Linked DNA regions of Homo sapiens: region 1 is linked to region 2. Evidence: promoter capture Hi-C in human tissues and cell types (Jung and others, 2019). All regions are on one chromosome and are shown on one strand. The core of a region is centred on a gene start or on the middle of the fragment in contact, and the rest is flanking DNA. Distances in the headings are between cores, read along the strand shown.

The links. Contacts are between HindIII fragments. The study calls those that stand out against the background at their distance.
Region 1: a contact is called between the fragment with the promoter of TMIGD2 here and the fragment with the promoter of CELF5 in region 2, in 1 of the 25 tissues and cell types used here (spleen).

The regions. Positions count from the first base shown.
Region 1 is chr19:4,300,984-4,303,689 of GRCh38, forward strand. It overlaps TMIGD2 (transmembrane and immunoglobulin domain containing 2), which reads right to left and starts at 1,406. Exons shown (of 5, transcript NM_001169126.2): 1 at 1,357-1,406. The coding sequence starts at 1,402. RefSeq lists an enhancer at 867-1,412. The HindIII fragment of the contact is 29,023 bases long and covers 1-2,706 here.
Region 2 is chr19:3,223,350-3,226,049 of GRCh38, forward strand. It overlaps CELF5 (CUGBP Elav-like family member 5), which reads left to right and starts at 1,312. Exons shown (of 13, transcript NM_021938.4): 1 at 1,312-1,649. The coding sequence starts at 1,391. RefSeq lists a silencer at 1,133-1,252. The HindIII fragment of the contact is 19,492 bases long and covers 1-2,700 here.

The DNA of each region.
Region 1 (2,706 bases), core at 156-2,655, 1.1 Mb after region 2:
TTGTTTTGAGATGGGGTCTCACTCTGTTGCCCAGGTGGGAGTGCAGTGGTGTGATCTCGGCTCATTGCAACCTCTGCCTCCCAGGTTCAAGTGATTCTTGTGGCTCAGCCTCTTGAGTAGCTGGGACTACAGGCACTCGCTACCACGCCCAGCTAATTTTTGTATTTTTGGTAGAGATGGGGTTTCACCAACATGGCCAGGCTGGTCTGGAACTCCTGACCTCAAGTGATCCACCTGCCTCAGTCTCCAATTTAAGTTTTAATAAAAAGACCTTGGTTGGGTGTGGTGGCTCATGCCTGTTATCCCAGCCCTTTGGGTGGCCAAGACTGGGTGATTGCTTGAGGCCAGGAGTTCAAGACCAGCCTGGGCAACATAGTGAGACCCATCTCTAAAAAACAAAAATGACTGGGCACGGTGGCTCACGCCTGTAATCCCAGCACTTTGGGAGGCCAAGGTGGGTGGATCATGAGGTCAGGAGTTCGAGACCCACCTGGCCGAGATGGCGAAACCCCGTCTCTACTAAAAATACAAAAAAAATTAGCCAGGCGCAGTGGCGCGCGCCTGCAGTCCCAGCTACTCGGGAGCCTGAGGCAGGAGAATCTCTTGAACCTGGGAGGCAGAGGTTGCAGTCAACCGAGATCGCGTCACTGCACTCTAGCCTGGGTGACAGAGCAAGACTCCTTCTCAAAACAAAACAAAACAAACAAACAAAAAAACACAAATGAACAACAAAAAAGTGCAAGCGGCTGGAATCAGAGGAGAGGGAAAGAGGAATGGAGGTTTTCGCCCCAGGAAATGTGTGAAGGGCAGCAGCCTTTGTCCTTAATTGGAAACACAGAGGGAGCTGCTGCCGGAGTAGAAAGTCTGCTTTTAGCTGTGAGAAGTCTGACGTGTCTGTTAGACCCCCGGAGAAGTTGAGGTTATGTGAAGTTCCTGGCATTTGAGATGCAATTGCAGAGGAGGGTAGAGACATGAGATCTGGAGAAGGGTATTAGGCAGCTGGAACAGCAGGTGCAAAGGCTCGAAGGCCAGATCCAGCCTTCCCATTGCGGAAACAGAGAAAGAAAAGTCCCCAGGCTAGAGCAAGAGGGAGGGAGCAAAGGCACTGCGGAGGGTGGAGATGAGAGAGGCCAGGCCAGGCTGGTATGTAGGGCAAGGTTTAGATTGTATCCTAGGGGCCCTCAGAGGATCCTTCCTTAATCCTCCAGCCCCCATCACGTTCTGAGTCTCGGAGGGAGATGGGCCTTATCTGACAGTAGAGAGACTGAAGTTTAGAGGGGCCCTGAGCTGGGGGGCAGGCAGCTGGGGATGACAGCAAGAGTGGGGTTCAGAGGGGAGGGAGGCCCAGATACTCACCCCAGATCTGCACCAGGAGGCCCAGCACCATGCCCGGGGACCCCATTCCTGGCCCATCACCCCCCTCTCCCCCTCCCAGTTGACAGACTTCCTGCCACAATCTCCGCCTCCCGCTGCAGAAGCAGATGCAACACCCAGGGCCAGACAACAGACGTCCGGTGTTCCAGCCTGCTGGGGGCTCCACTTCCTGCCACCTCGTGCCTCAGTTTCCCCAATGCATTTTCTATCTGAAAGGCAGTGTACGGACCAGGCAACATGGCTCATGTCTGTAATCCCAGCACTTTGGGAGGCCGAGGCAGGTGGATCACCTGAGGTCAGGAGTTCGAGACCAGCTTGGCCAACATGATGAAACCCCTACTAATTTCTACTAAAAATACAGAAATTAGCTGGACATGGTGATGGGCGCCTATAATCCCAGCTACTTGGGAGGCTGAGGCAGGAGAATGGCTTAAACCCGGGAGGCGGAGGTTGCAGTGAGCCAAGATCACGCCACTGCACTCCAGCCTGGGCGACAAGAGTGAAACTCCGTCTCAGAAAAAAAGAAAAGAAAGGCAGTGTATGCAAGTGAGTGGGAGGAATCCACCCCTGTGAGCTTTCTGGAAGGCTCTACATAAACACATCTAGGTACAGGAAGACACAGTGCGAGAGCAGGTGGCTCCGTGGGGGAGGGGCAGGCGACATAGGCCTGAGCAGTGAGTTAAATGACAGGGTCCCTGCCTCAATTATTTTGCTCCCAAAATGTCTTTCTTTTGCTGGGCGCTGTAGCTCACACCTGTAATCCCAGCACTTTGTGAGGCTGAGGTGGGAGGATCACTTGAGCCGAGTTTAAGATCAACCTGGGGTAACACAGCGAGATCCAATCTCTATTAAAAAAAAAAAAAAAAAAAAAAAGATACAGGCTGGGCATGGTGGCCCAGGCCTGTAATCCCAGCACTTTGGGAGGCCAAGGCGGGTGGATCACCTGAGGTCAGGAGTTCAAGACCAGCCTAGCCAACATGGCAAAACCCGGTCTCTACTAAAAATACAAAAATTAGCTGGGCCTAGTGGTGGGCGCCTGTAGTCCCAGCTACTCAGTGGGGTTGAGGCAGGAGAATCGCCAGAACTGGGGAGATGGAGATTACAGGGAGCCGAGATCCTGCCACTGCACTCCAGCCTGGGCGACAGAGTGAGACTGTGTCTCAAAAAAAAAAAAAAAGATACAAAACCAACCCAGGGTGATGGTGCATGCCTATAGTCCCAGCCACTCGGGAGGCTGAGGCAGGAGAACCGCTTGAGCCCAGGAGTTGGAGGCTGCAGTAAGCCATGATTGCGCCCCGTTACTCCAGCCTGGGCAACAGAGTGAGTCCGTCT
Region 2 (2,700 bases), core at 62-2,561:
TTTTCCTGCCTCAGCCTCCTGAGTAGCTGGGATTACAGGCATGCACAACCATGCCTGGCTAATTTTTGTGTTTTTAGTAGAGACAGAGTTTTCTCCATGTTGATCAGGCTGGTCTCGAACTCCTGATCTCAGGTGATCCACCTGCCTCAGCCTCCCAAAGTGCTGGGATTACAGGTGTGAGCCATCGTGCCTGGCCTGTTTTCTTATTTTTTACAGCAATGGCGTCTCACTATGTTGCTCAGGCTGGTCTCCAACTCCTGGGCTCAAGTGGTCCTCCTGACTCTGCTTCTCAAAGTGCTGGGATTACAGGTGTGAGCCACCACGGCCAGCACGTATTATTATTTTTATTAATATTATTGATGAGTTTCATACGTAAAGGATCACGGGCACTTTAGAGCTGGGAGATACTTCAGTATTTCTCCTATCCTGTCATTATCAGTGCGAGCCAGTCTCCCTCCTTGTTGATGACATTATTGATGAGTTACATACTTAAAGGGCCAAGGACACTTTCTATGTGTAAGCACCCTATAGAACTGGAAGATACTTTTACCATTTCTCCTGTGCTGTCGTGATTAGTGGGAGCACTTTGTCTTGCTCTTGATTAATTATTATTAGTGTTGTTATTATTAGGTGTTTTTTTTTTTTTTTTTTACCAAGACGGAGTTTTGCTCTTGTTGCCCAGGCTGGAGTACAATGGCACAATCTTGGCTCACTGCAACCTCCGCCTCCTGGGTTCAAGTGATTATCCTGCCTCAGCCTCCCGAGTAGCTGGGATTACAGGCACCCCCCGCCACCGAGCCCAGCTAATTTTTGTATTCTTTAGTAGAGACGGGGTTTCACCGTGTTAGCCAGTCTGGTCTCGAACTCCTGACCTCAAGTGATCCACCCACCTCGGCCTCCCAAAGTGCTGAGATGACAGGCGTGAGCCACCGCGCCCAGCCATATTATTAGTGTTATTAATATTATTGATGAGTTACCTACTTTAAGGATCACGGGCGCTTTCAACGACAAGCCCCCTACATTATCCCAGCAACTTTTGACATTCTTCCGGCCGATGCCCTCCGCGGGAGCCGGCGGGGACCCCTGGGAAGCCGGCTAAGGCCCGTCCCGCCCGCAGCTCCGCCCTCGCCCACCCGTAGGCGGGGCCCGGGGCCTTCCGGCCTCAGTTTCCCCCCGCGGCCCGGGGATGCGGGGAGGCGCCGGCTGCCCCGCGCGGCGCGGCCGCCAGGGGCCGCTGCGGAGCCGCCTTTGTGGTCCCGATGCCGGGGCGGGCGCGGGCGGGAGGAGGGCGCGGGGGCCCGGGAGGGAGGCGGGAGGCGCGGCCGCCGCTCCAGCTGCGAGTCCGCCCGCCGCCCGCCGCCGCCGCCGCCGGCTCGGTCCCGCGCCCGCCATGGCCCGCCTGACGGAGAGCGAGGCGCGCCGGCAGCAGCAGCAGCTCCTGCAGCCGCGGCCCTCGCCCGTGGGCAGCAGCGGGCCCGAGCCCCCCGGGGGGCAGCCCGACGGCATGAAGGACCTGGACGCCATCAAACTCTTCGTGGGCCAGATCCCGCGGCACCTGGACGAGAAGGACCTCAAGCCGCTCTTCGAGCAGTTCGGCCGCATCTACGAGCTCACGGTGCTCAAAGACCCCTACACGGGGATGCACAAAGGTGGGCGCCCGGCCCCCTCCCCCCTCTCCCCCTCCCTCCGCCTCCCACCCCACCTTCCGGCATCTTCTCTCCCCCATCACCATCCCTCCTCTGCTCACCTCCCTCCTCTGCCTGCCTCTGCCGGAGCATCGGTTCTTACCCCCTCCCTCCCACCCACCCCTCCTCCCCTCTCTGGGGGTGCAGCTGACAGATCCGAGCGGGCCCCCTCCCCTCCTCCGCCCCCTCTCCCTCCCTCCCCACCTTCCGGCATCTCCTCTCTCTCTCCCTCTCTCTCTCCCTCTCTCTCTCCCTTTCTCTTCTCTCCCATCTCCCTCGACCTCTCATCCTTCCCCCCACAGCACCCTCTCTCTCCCTCCCTCCCTCCCTCACCCTTCCATCCCCCAGACCCCCACCCCTTCCTCCCTCCCTCACCCCACTCTTTCCTGCCCGTTTGCCAGGGGAGCCTCGGGAACGCCGGCACCCCTCCCTGCCCCCCCACCCCCATTCATTCAGCCTCCCCAGGCCCCGTCGGGGAAGTTTGCACCTGCGGACTCCATTGCTTTGGTTATTTTCACAAAGCCAGGCCGGCGGGGCAGGTCCGGCCGCGGGGGACACGGATGCCCAGGACCCCAGGCTAATCGGTAACTACAAAGGAAGACGGGTTGGGGGCGCCCGGCTCGGGGGGACGCGCCCGCCTCGCCTGCCTCGGGTGGCGGAGAGGCTCCCGTCGCTGCCCACCCCCTGGCCCCACCACCTCCGCGTGGATCAGCATTCTCTCCTCCATTTCTCTGCCCTCCCCCTCCCCCGCCTCCACCTTGGGCTCAAGTTGAAACTGGCCGAGCCTCTTAGCAATGTGTTGGGGTCTCAGGCCCAAGACAATGAGCTTGGACGTGTCCATCTGGGCAGAGCCCAAATTCTGGGGTGGACAGGGAGGAGGAGGGAGGCGTGGGCGGCCTCAGGCCTGTCTGCCTCCCTCCCACTGGATTCTCCCTCCGATGGCATCCCGGGTGGGGGTGTCCGGCAATTGTATCCCCAGCCCTTGGTTCCCATCATGGGCCCAGCGTCTGAATTG